Regions from separate parts of the Homo sapiens genome. Here region 2 is linked to region 1. The links are contacts of gene promoters, found by promoter capture Hi-C in blood cells and fetal thymus (Javierre and others, 2016). All regions are on one chromosome and are shown on one strand. Each heading gives the region's core, a stretch centred on a gene start or on the middle of the fragment in contact. The rest is flanking DNA. Distances are from core to core; before and after follow the strand shown.

Region 1 (6,466 bases), core at 444-2,943:
AGTTATTTCTTAAGGGAGAAATTACTGGTTTGGCCGAAGGGGACGGACATGTTTAAGGCTTCAGATATATACTGCCAAGCTGACTAGCCCAGGAAAGTTGTACAGATTTGCCCTAATCAATATGTTTCATAACTGTTTTTGAAATCTTGCCAACTTTAAACCTAATAGGTCAGTATCAGTAATTCCCGTTAACGTAAGAGTTCAAATTTGCCCTAGTTTTAATCATTTAAAAATTTTTTATAATTTTTAAATGATAACAATTATGATGCAACCATGACTTTGAGAAGCCAAGAGATCTTATTCTCAAATTGTAAATGAATCCGTAAGAGCTAAGAGAGAAGAAACAGGCTATTAAATGGCCAAAGATCAAATCTGAAATGTCCAGGAGTTTTCCTGTAGGGGTCACTGTTACTGTCAATTTATGCCTGCAAGAAAACTAAAATAGTCACACATTAAAGCATGTATGCACATTTTTAATGTCTGATTCCTCTACATTTCTTAAACTGTAAAATAATAAGAACATGCAGCCAGATAGCATCGCGATACCAACTTCTTTATATAATGACACGTACCATTCCACTCAATGTGCTCCTCAGTTTGAATTTATAAAATATATGCTACTCAAATGAAAGGCACTTATGCCTGCTCTTAGTAGAGGAAGCGCTAGCTAATTGCCTAACGCCCCATTAGCATATGGCCTATACTGACTTGAGAAGGAAAGAACGTTCATTGCTGTGGCCAATAGGATCCCCTCTCCCCACCTTCCCTTTTCTGCATCAAAATCTACACAGACAAAAGTCAGATGTTGTAATATGCATTTTATCGTGTCACTTAAGTACTAAGAGGTGCTTTTAAAGTTTTTATTAATGCTGCTCAAACTTGACCCCGACGGTCCAGGATACAGGCCAAGGTGTCAGTGCGGACACAATCGCAAGGCGGCTGTTAGGCTTCAGGGCTGGGCAGGAAACTTGCCAGGTGCTACTAGGAACGTATCAGCCCTTTCTACAAAGCAGGTGTCTTTCCCATCATAAAATGCAAAGCAATCAGCCGTTCCCTTTCTCCCCAGCCCCCTCGTCCGGAGACCGAGAGGATATTTACCCTGGGCTCTTGCAGTTCTCTTATAACTGAACCCAGCGGCGGCTCCTTCTCCGAGCTCAGAGCCAGCAGGCTCAGGCCCAGCCACACTTTACAGGCAAATTGCCGAGCTGACCAAGGGCTTTGGCCAAGCCCGAGCTGGGCCGGGGCGTCCGGGAAGCGGAAGGAGCCAGTCTAGGAAATCCGGGTGTGCGTGGTGGTGAAGCTGGTGGGCAAGCTTCCACTTCAGGTCCGGGGCTTTGTGTCCCGCAACAGACGCTTGGCGCCGCTCCTCTTCCAGCCTGCTGCCGCCTTCTCCGAGCGAGTGAGTTGGCGAAACTCACTCACCTGTCGGAACCCGGTGCCTGGCGGCCAGACGCGCAGATTACAGCAAACCTTGGCCGGGACGCCCCAGCCAGGGAGGCAAGTGTGGGAGCTGCTCCTAGAGGTGCCAGCTCCCACCCCCAGCTCCGCGCCCCCTGCTCGTCCCCTTTCACTTCCAGGCGCCTTCGGCTTGGGGTGCCCAGAAGGGCAAGTCCAGCAGACGCCAGGGCTGCAGGTTCAAGATGCTCCGCCTCCTCCTGCCACTTAGAGCCACAAACGCTAGCGGGAACCTTTCCACTCAGTCTTAGTCTGCGGTCACTGCTGAGGTTTTCAGAACTTTCCAGGCAAAGGCCAGCCAGGTCCTTTGCCTCCAACCCACTCCGCGCCTACCTCCCGCCTGGGGACACCCCTAGGCCCAGGAGATCCTACTCTCCCCCGAGCACCGACGTTCCAACTCGTCTGCGCCCCCGACTGCTGTCCGGCTCCTGTGCCAAGGGGCGCGCGCATCTTCCCGGGGCCAGCAACGCTCCCAACTTCTCGACTCGCCCTCCTCCTCCCCAGAGCGAGAGTGGGGCGGGCTGAGCCCGGATCCGGGGTGCACTCGAGCGTTCCCAGCGCTCGGCATTCACCCCGCCTCAGAGCCGACTTTCGAAGGGGGATTGAGCCTCGGAGGTCCAGGCGTCTTACTCCAAAGCTCAAGTCGGCCCCCGTCTTTTCTTTCCACACCCCTGTGCCCGTCGCATGCTGGCCGGGTGAGCGGCCGGGCCGAGGATTCGGGTGCCCGGGGCCGCGTCGCCCCGTCGGGTACTGAGCTGAGCGCACCATGGCCGGCTGCTGCTGCCTGTCCGCGGAGGAGAAGGAGTCGCAGCGCATCAGCGCGGAGATCGAGCGACAGCTTCGTCGGGACAAGAAGGACGCGCGCCGTGAGCTTAAGCTGCTGCTGCTGGGTGAGTGGCTGCGTCTCCGACTCCAGTGAGCCGGGCGTTTTTCTTCCGAGCCCTCCCGGCCTCTCCACTGGCACCCGCGCGGCCCTGGAGCCCAGCGGGGTGCAGGGCGGCTTCGTCCTTCTCCCCCTCGGAGCTCACGGATGCCAGCAACTTGGGGCCTTAGGTGCCTGTTCTTTCCATCTCTGGCTGGGCGACTTGCAAAAGCAACACCTTCCCCTGCCCCAAAACAGGATAGGGACCTGTAACACTTAACCTCTTGACCGCTGTACCTTATGTGTTCCGGTGTGCCCCTCTCCTCAAAACCCCGTCCACTCCTCCGCCCGCAGCACACCCAGCTTGGGGTCTGTGGTGACCCACATCTTGGGTTCAGCGCTAGCTCTGACCCGTACGCTTTCAGTTCTAGATGAAGCATCTTGAGAATTTACCATGTGCCAGATCGTGCTAAGTTCTTAAGGGCATCACCACCTGGTGATGCGGGCAGGTGATATCGCTATTCTAGAGAATTAAAACATGGAGGCCTGGAGAACTGACCAACTTGCCCTGATTGAGAAAAGGCAAAGCCGATGCTAGGTCAGCTGTGGGGGTGAAGCCCATGCCGTTGCTGCTCCTCTGACCGTGAGCTCCTATGCCTGCCTCCCATGGGGGTCCCTCAGGCCTTTGTGTTTGCAGCGGACCCAAACCTCCCTTGCCCAGCTTGACTCAGTGTGTCCACGTCCTAGGATTCAGCTTGGCTGCCCTGGTGCCTCTGGCAGGTCTTCATCCAGCTCTTTTGGTGTCTCTGCAAAGGTCTGGGTAGGACATCCACTTTCAAACACAGAAAGAACACAGTTTAAGGTTTGCCCAAGTTATGCCATGAGGCAAGGATCCCATCTCAGACTTTCTAGAACGCTGTCAACACATTTGCTGTTTGAGGAATATTTTACCTTTTCTACCTTTCAGACCATGATATCAGCTGTCAATTTTTTTCTAGATAGCCACAAAGATTTCAACTTTTTTTCTTTCACCCCTTTTGAACAGGAATCTTCTCTTATACCATCTATTTATTCATCTTTATTCCTTGTATAGGAATCACCCTCCCAGAAAGCTTCAAGGAAAGAAAAAGTTGATCTAGTTAGTGTAATATAGAGAAGGCTCTCAGCCAGTATGGCCTTCAGACCTGGGCGGAAGAACCCCCTTATCCTTATCCCCTGGGTTTAAAGGGCCCAGTCTGGCCTTCTGGGGGTTGGGGGGGGGTGTGCCCCTCCCCACAGAGCTGGAAGTCTGTAGGTCCAAAGGGGCTTGCTACCCAGAGACCATGCTGCCCCCTCCCTCCCAAGACCTGGATGGAATGAATACCCAGCCCAAAGGGACCCATACCAGCTTCTAAGGCCTGAGCCCTAGAAAAGAAGGCAGACCTGATCCCTGGAGAGCTCACAAAGGGGCAGCTGTTTGCTGGGGCGTAAAAGTGCTTGGAAATGTGGGCTGGGTAGGAGTGGAGGGAGTCCCCGTGGGTGCCCAAGAGGCCCCCCTAGGAGAGAGGGAGCTTGGGTGGGGAAGGGAAGGGGCTCTGTTCATTGGCCAGGTCTGCTATTTCTGTGTCTGACCCATAACTTTGAAAAGTCTGAAAATTCTAAATTGTCCCTGGCCTTCTAGGCTGTTATAAAGCTACCTTTGTCAAGGGAGGAGGAATACGTGAGAATTTGCTAGCTTGATTAACACTAGAAAATAACTATGGGTGCGGGGCTTTGTACTTTTGCCCTGAACCCCACAAACCAGAGGGGTTTAGTTGCGTATGTAACTTTTTTCTTTATAAGGGCAGGCTGAACCCTATTTCATTTTGCAATGCTTTGATTTGTGTCAATGTATGAAGTACAGTGTCCAGAATATACCAGGAGCTTGACAAATGCTGGCTCTTTGTATGAAAAATTGTGTAGTCAGCTGAGCTGTACTGTATTGGTAATAAGCCTGTTTGATGTAAAATTCTCGCATTTACCCACAAACTAGGGGAGAAATGTTTGTAGGTAAATTGTTTGCTCTGAAAGTCACATTAATCAGGGTGACCCGAGGGTCTTCTTTATCTTCCCAGGCCATTGCTCCAACCCTCCTCCTACCACCTTGAGGCACTGTCTGACCTCTGGAAACTCCCATTTTCATCTTGCGGAGTTGTGACTAGCATATCCCCTTAGTGAAAACTTTCCTGTGAAAAATAGTTTCTAAACCACACAGAGCCGTTCAGAACTCCAAGGATGGACTTCAAAACCTCTGATTTATTTCAATCTGTAAAGTCCTGGGGCATAGCTCCATTTCTTCTCAAGGAAGAGCCAATGACTCAGAAGTGACAGGAATTAGGGGAGGATGTGCACCATTTTGTCTGAAGTCATGCAATTCGAGTGAAAAATTCACCCATCTCTCTAGTGGGTAGATTAGAGCATCCACTGCTCAGGTGCCTCAGTTAAAAACCTCACTTTGCAAATGGGAGTTTGGAATCCTTTTGTGGAGTATGGGATGACCCCCAAAGACACCATCTCTTTCACAATGAAGCATGCTTTTGCAAAAAAATGATGTGAGGATGTTTCTGAAGTGCAGTATCCTGTTTCTGCTTAATAAAAGCACAGGTCAGTGTCTACTAGGGAAAGATAAAAGCTGTTGTTTGGTTAAGGCTAATAATTGCAAGATGTTGGTGTGACACTTTCTCATCAGAAAGAGATGGAGAAAATAAAGGAGATGGTTGAATTTAGTAGAAAGAAATTTCTTATCAGTTCCTTGCATAAAAGTAGGACAAAAAAGTTCTGATAAGAACATTGGTGAGTACTGATCAGCATAGGGAGAAAGTGTCAGGACAATAGCTATTAAATAAGGGAAAATGATGTTTTATTGATTTTCCTGTTAAATGCAGATTGGTGAAGTGTGGCTTGTTAATTGGGTTGAGTGTTTTAATTCTGGATGCAGACCTTACCTTGGAGCTCTCTGGAAGGAAGAGGAATTGAGCATTTAACAGATATGGCTGAATTAGTTTGCTAGGGCTGCCATAACAAAATACCACAGACTGGGAGGCTTCAACAAAGGAAATTAATTTTCTCACAGTTATGGAGCTGGAAGTCCAAGAGCAAGGTGTTGGCTTGGCAGGTTTGGTTTTTCCGGAGGCCTCTCTCCTTGGCTTGCAGACAGCTGCCTTCTCACTGTGGCCTCACATGGCCTTTCTTCTGGGCATGCACATTCCTGTGTCTTTTTTTTTTTTTTTTTTTTTTTTTTTGACACTCTTTAGGTTGGAGTTCAGTAATACAGTCACGGCTTCCTACGGCCTTGACCTCCTGGGCTCAAGCATCCTCCCACCTCAGCCTCCCTAGTAGTTGGGACTATAGGCGTGAGCCACCATGCTGGGCTTATTTTTATTTTTCTTGGTTTTTGTTGCCTAGGCTGGTCTCAAATGATCGCTGGGCTCAAACGATCCCTCTGCCTCAACCTCCCAAAGTGTCGGGATTACAGGCATGAGCCACTGTGTCGTGCCACTTCCTCTTCTTATAAGGATACCAGTTCCTATTTTATTAGGGCCCCACTCATTTTATCCTAATCACCTCTTTAAAGACATTATCTTCAAATACAGTTACATTCTGAGGTACTAGTGGTTGGGATTTCAACATAAAAACTTTGGCGGGAGGACTAAATTCAGCCAGAAACACTGGTGTAGAGATGAAAAATGTAGATTCTTAGCCCAGTCTGCCTGGGTTTGAACCCTAGCCCTACAGTGTCTTAGCTGTGGACTAAATTCTCTGGGCTTTGGATGGCAGTGAGTGCTCAGTATCAGCTATCATCACTCTGTTTTTTGAGTATTTTCAGGCCCTAGAGAGGTGTCATTTTCCATTTTAGTTGACCAACTGTGGGTTGCATAGAAGTTTGTATAAACTGTTGTGGTAGTGCTTTAACAGAAATGTTTTACTTTGAGTTTCCCTTAGTGTTTTCTGAGCCATAAACTGATTTAAAATTCCTCTTCCTGCTTACACCAAAAAGTTGAAAATCTGGTCCCAAAAAGTTTTATTGGATTGGTTATAACAAAATCCCATTTCAGAATTAGCCATCATGTTCCTGGGCAGGAAGTCCATTCCAGAAAATGGTGCAAATAGTGTGAGTTTTAAGGTAGAAAG
Region 2 (6,007 bases), core at 673-3,172, 100 kb before region 1:
GGAGGGATTTTTTTTTCCAGCTTGATGACTGGGAAGACTTCAAGAAAGAGTTAGAAATAAAGGTAATAAAACAAAAAATATGTAAGCATATTCAGGAAGTTTGAGCTGTGCCATTTGGCTGGAATGGAGGTTATGAGGTCGACTTCTGTATACCATCTTGAAAATGACTTTCACTGACTCATAAATTTTCTAAATTACATAATGATGATAACATGATCATTACTAGTGGGATTATATTATCACAAAAACCTCTTACATTTAAAATGTTCTTATTAAGGCCCCATCTGTATTTGCTAATTAAGTAAAACTGTATTATGATTAAAACTGCATGGAAGAGGCAGAATGCTTTGTTTGCTTGGTTTTCATATTTTACATTTAAGAAAGATTGAATATCAAAAACATCTGTTTCTGATAATCCTATAACAGAGTTTTTAGTCCATGCATTAGAAATCTTTTGGTATTGGTAGAAAGAATTTTGCAAGATTTCTTCTTTAATATTAATTTGGTATTTATAAAAGAAAATATGTTTATAGCTGATTTTCAGTGGAAATAATATTTTTTAAAGATGTACCTTATGTGACTAATTAAATGTTCTTTGCCAATCAGCACATCTGCAGCCAGATTTCAAAACTATATATTCATTTGGCCACAGAGACTTTTTAGCCCAATCTTGCAAAATATTTGCTATTGTAGTATAATTGAGAATAAAACAGTCTAAATTAGTGAAGAAATACAGAATATGAACAATTACAATGTATGAAAAAAATATACACAATATTTTTTTCATCACATCAAAACCCATTTACTGGGTCGTAAAATCAATTTAATAGGTCTTGTTAGCATTTTTTTATAGGGAGGATGGGATGGAATTGAGAATAGAGTACATTGCATGTTGTAAGGAAAAGTATGGTTTCATGAAATGTTAGTTTTATATGTCTGTGTTTCTGTGTGTGAATATACTGGATTGCTGTGTAAACTGTATTTCTTACTGTGGATTGTTATCATTAGTTTGAAAACATTATTTTAGAGAAATACCAATTTGTGTATAGTATGTGGAATTAACCCTTCACCTATTGTCCTGGAAGACCCATCCAAGTCCCAGTATTAGCAACTAGAGAAAAATTATATGCATTTAGTATATTATTTATGGAAATAAATGTTTCTGAAGTCCTCAGTTCTCAGCAAAAACTTGTTCCTGTACAAGACATTCCTGGGAAACCTAAACAAAGAGAAAAGGAAGGATAGAAGGATCTGCTAACATATTTAAAGCCTTCTGCCTGTTTTCCTGAATAACATTCTACCACCTGGTTAAGGGTGTTTATTTATAGTAAGGAGTACACGGGGGTGAAATGCCCAAGACCCCTCACTTTATAAGGTCTTAACTGGCATCAGCTCGTTGCTTCTGTACAGTGGAGCCTCATTCCTCACAAGGTATTGGTTTGAGTGGGATGTTTTGACTTAGACCCAAAGCAAGAATGGGTCCATGGCAGCCAGGGGGAGAGAGAAAATGCCAAAACTATGGAAAGGATTGAGAACCTGGCGGCAGTGAAGAGTGAAGACCCCACAGCCTTCCCAAATGCTAAGGTCGAGAACATGGGGCAGGGAGGTAGGTCTAGAGCCAAAGCTTGAAGCCTGAAGTGTTGGATGCAGTCAACCACTGGAAATCTGTCAGAAGCCAGTGTCCCAGCCAGAAATATGGCCTTCCTTCAGAACTCCCCCTTTCCCTTTCTTACCCTGAGGAGTCATTCCATCCCTGTGTTCAACTTTTTTATACTGGTGGAATCTGGCTTATAACAGGACCAGTCCGATACAACATCTGGACTGGCTCCAGTACCTGGATCATACCTCACTTGTGGGCCAAAATCCAATTATTAAACACTTGTCATTTATATTTACTTTGTAATTTATTAAACATTTGTCATGTTCTTGCTGTGCTACCTATTTTCATATTCTATCTGACAATAACAGTTGACATTTTCTCTCAAGAAGTGGAGAGAGCTGGAAAATTCAGCAAAGAAGGGTTAAATAACTTTTCCTTTAGCCAGTGCTTTCAAAGATGCCCCAACCCTAGAATTACAGATACCACTTAGGCTACTAAGCTAGGCTGTTGTTTGAAACTGACCTACTTCTGTCATCCTCCACAGTTGTCTTAATGGGAGGCAATTTATGCCCCACATTTACTGTAGTGCTTGCAGAAGGCATCAAGCTCTACAAAGCTTCATGCTTGTCCTTAAAAGTTAATTGGGAGCATCAGGGGAGGAGTGAGTGCTGGGAACAGCTATTTCCATTTCCCAGAACAGTAGTTGAATCCTCTCATCTTTCCAGGGTAATTTTAGGAAAACCTCAGTCATTTACTCTACTTTCATTGCCTAGATTTTAGGTTTTCAGTACTTTGAAATGACAGCTTTTCAAAAAGATACTACCTAAAGAGAAATGAGATGTAGATTTAAACAAAAGATGAATATTGAAGTAATCCATTTAAGATAATAGCTGAAAATATTTATTCCGTTATTATGTCTTTCACTGGATTTTATTTCATCTGAAAATGTTAGATAGAGGAGACTCTGGATTTGGAAACTGGACCCCAGAGTGGTGAAAGGACTTCCCAAGAGGTGGCCTTGGGACCAGGCTAAGAACTCAGTTCTCCTGACCACCCCTCTCTATGCCACATTGTCCTGCTAGATCTAAACATGAGGAATGTTCACATGGATGATGTCACCAATTGACACCATCCAACATGGCTTAATAGAAAAACCATGGACTTGTAGCCAGGGAAATTCAAACTTAAGTCTTTATCTCACAAGGTTGCATGAACTAATTGAGGTAGCATGTGAAGCACCTAGCGCAGAGCAGATGTTCAAGAAATTAGGTCCCACACGGGAATTACAACCTGAAGACACATTCTAAAGGTAGGAAAGTTTGTCACTAATTCTTTCTCGCCTTCTCTTCCTGTTGTCTAGCTGGTGCTATGGGTGGGTGCATGGAGTCTTCAGGCTGCCCTCAGAATACCTAAAGTTTTCTCAATACAGTGTATGTCAAACTTCATTCCATGCATCATCCCATTCTGTGCCTGTTTTTCATTTAAATTAAGGGTCTTTGGACCATTCCTGCTGGCTTTGCTAATCTTATAAACTGATGTTTATGAAAATGGTAATAACTAAAGCTAGATAATGTCTTAGAATGTCAAGTCTTCAGTTAAAGATACTTGATCTCATTAGAGTAGTCTTCCCAGTCTTACTTTTTACTGATCTCCTCTACCTTTTTCAGTATGAAAAGTCTTCTTCATAACAGGGTATTCAGGATCAAAAGTAGGAGTTAAAAGGTTCTGGTTTTCTCTGTGACATTTATCAAACTCTGCACCATGAGTCACTCCCAGCAATGAGCTTGTCTGCTGCTTTGTTGTCTTGCCTTTTGATGTTTCTGTTACATTTAAAATATAAAATAAATGTATTATTTTCTTAGAATATATTTATTATTTTAATAACTAAGGTAATATATGTTCATTATTTAAAATTCCACATACATAGAAGGCTACAGAAGAGAGTGAAAACTCTCCTGTGTTTCCACTCTACCTCCCCCATTTTAAAATTTGGGTAACTACCACCAGCTGTTTCATATGTATCTTCTTCCCAGAACTGTATTTTACACCTGAACCAGTATATCTTTTTTTAAGTTTAAAAATCAATCAGTTTGTATTTTTATCAAATAATGGTTTACAAAGCCAAACAACTAAAAAAGACAAAATTTTTTAAAGAGCACTTTCTCAGTCACCATCACCACCACCTCCTGATAGCCAGGGGGACTGCCCTTAACTCCTAACTCTTAGTTTCTGTTATTGTCTTCGTGTCTCAAAATGGTGTGCTTTTACTCTTTTTTTCTTGATTTGTCGATTGTATTATCTTCTATTATGGTAGGTAAAAATCATGCTGTCTTAACATTCCCACATCATTTTTCTCCCATCCTTTCAACAGTTATATAACCCAATTTTTTGATAATTCACTGTTTACACTATTTAACAATGTAAATATTGTTCATTGATGAGCAGCTGTAATTTCGTTTATTTTTTTGGTCAACTTTTTTTCCCACGAGTTAATTGCCTTACATTTTAATTTTCTTTGTTTCTTTGTGTGTGTATATCTCTAGCTGATTCTTTTCTAATTCACTGACAGATCTATGAAATCTTTCAAAACACGGTCAACATATAAGATAATATATCAGTTCCATTTTGTTCATTTTAAATCAGAGATCTCCCTTTTGGCTTTGTCTTTTCTAATCAGGACTGGTTGTTCCGTTGCATTTTATACATTTGTCATCCTGGGACCTTGCTTCACTGCTGCCCCAGGAGTTCATTTACATCTTTCTTGTGTTGAGTTCCCTGTTTCTAGATCCTATGTTGTTTTCTTCCTTGGCTTATTTCCTTGTTTTACTAGGACATATCCTTCTGTAGCTTTCTGAGTAAGGATCCAAGGAACCCTTGGAATAATTTTTAAATTCCATTCATGTCTAAAAATATCCCTATTCTGCCCTCTAACTTAATTGATATTTTGGCTGGGTATAGACTCAGATATAAATCATTCTGAAAACACTATTTCATAGTCTTCCAATGATCCCTTTCAAAAAATCCATGGCTCTTCGGCTTCCTTATTCTTTATATGTGACCTATTTTCTATGAAAAGTTTTTAGAATCTTTTATTTATCTAAGATAATTCTGAAATTTAAGGAAGGATCTCTTTTGGTATAGGTATTCTTTCTTCTTCTTCCACCCCCAGCCCTTCTGGGGCCCTTTAACCTAGAGATTTGATTCCAAGAAATGCTCATTTAGTATTCATTTGAAAGTTTCCTCCTCTCCATTTTCTCTGTGTTCTGTTACTATAACGTCTTTTAGCTGAAGAGGAAACTACTTTGACTAATTCTTTTTTTATTTTTCTGAAATTTTTTAAATATTTTTTAAAATTTTTTTATTTTTCTCTCCAGTTTTCTATTGCTTTTTCTACTTCCTGAGAAATTTTCTAGAATTATCTTTCAAATTATCTTTCTTTGTTTTTTGGCTTTCATAGATTTTTTTTTTGTGTGTGTGCATGACCTGCTGAATCATAAGATTTTTTTTTTGAAATCCTAAGAGATCTTTTTATTCTCCAAACATTTTCTTTCTTAAGTCAGTATCAGTATCCTATTTTTCTTTCAGAAAGATCTGAGGATTTTTTTTTTCCACTTTAAAGTATTTTAAGTTTTTGCATTGATCTCTTTACAGTGATCTCTGTTTACTTCTTCCCCTTCCCTACTCACTGCGGTGCGTTTGCTTAGGTCTCAGTATTTTCTGCTGGAGATTTTCTTCAAAGGTTTGGTATTCCTAGGTGTTTTACAGCACTGAAGCACTAAACAGCTTTCCTCCCTGCCTCCTCTCCAGGCAGTTTCCTGGGTTAGGAGTCTGGGTGTTGGAGAGTGTAAAGATGGCAGAACCCAGCTGTTTCTCCCATCTGTCCTGCCTCTTGTTCAGCCCAGTTACAGAACTAGGTGCCTACTCGACTTTTCCCTGCCTCTCGCAGAACTGAACCAGTTCAGTCCTCCACTCCTCTGTGTTAGTAAACATTATCACTTGAATGTTTCCAGAGCCTATCATTTACTCACACAAATCTCAGCCTGATTGAAATATGGAAAGGTGATTAATAGTTTTCAGCATCCTTTCTGGGTTCACTGCCGATACCATATATTTGGCAGACATCCTTCCACATCTGTGGCTTGAATTATTTCCCAGTTTCTTCATTAGGTTTTGTTGTTGTTATTGTTGTTTCATTTTCTTGGGGTCTCGGGGAACAGAATGAAGTAAATAGTTTTTTCCTGGAAGTTCCTGGAGATTTTATTTAAATCCAAGTTGCCCTGGGCATTTTTCAGAAGTGTTGAGTCATTTTCAGTTTTTACCTTTAGTTATTTAACAAGTTTTGAGTACCTACTAATAGTAGCATACAGCAAGATGGTAATTCTTACAAGTCATTATATTACCTAATTA

Evidence for each region. The method cuts DNA at HindIII sites, captures the fragments that hold promoters and counts their contacts. A CHiCAGO score of 5 or more calls a contact.
Region 2: a contact is called between a fragment that was not itself captured here and the fragment with the promoter of GNA14 in region 1, in 1 of 17 cell types (endothelial precursors). The highest score is 5.5, in endothelial precursors.

Annotation. Positions count from the first base shown.
Region 1 is chr9:77,643,549-77,650,014 of GRCh38, reverse strand. GNA14 (G protein subunit alpha 14) reads left to right here and starts at 1,693. Exons shown (of 7, transcript NM_004297.4): 1 at 1,693-2,345. The coding sequence starts at 2,222. The HindIII fragment of the contact is 2,117 bases long and covers 1,315-3,431 here.
Region 2 is chr9:77,744,673-77,750,679 of GRCh38, reverse strand. The region is part of intron 5 of GNAQ (G protein subunit alpha q); the gene reads left to right. Among named protein-coding and RNA genes, the nearest start is that of GNA14, 99 kb to the right of the region's middle. The HindIII fragment of the contact is 592 bases long and covers 1,627-2,218 here.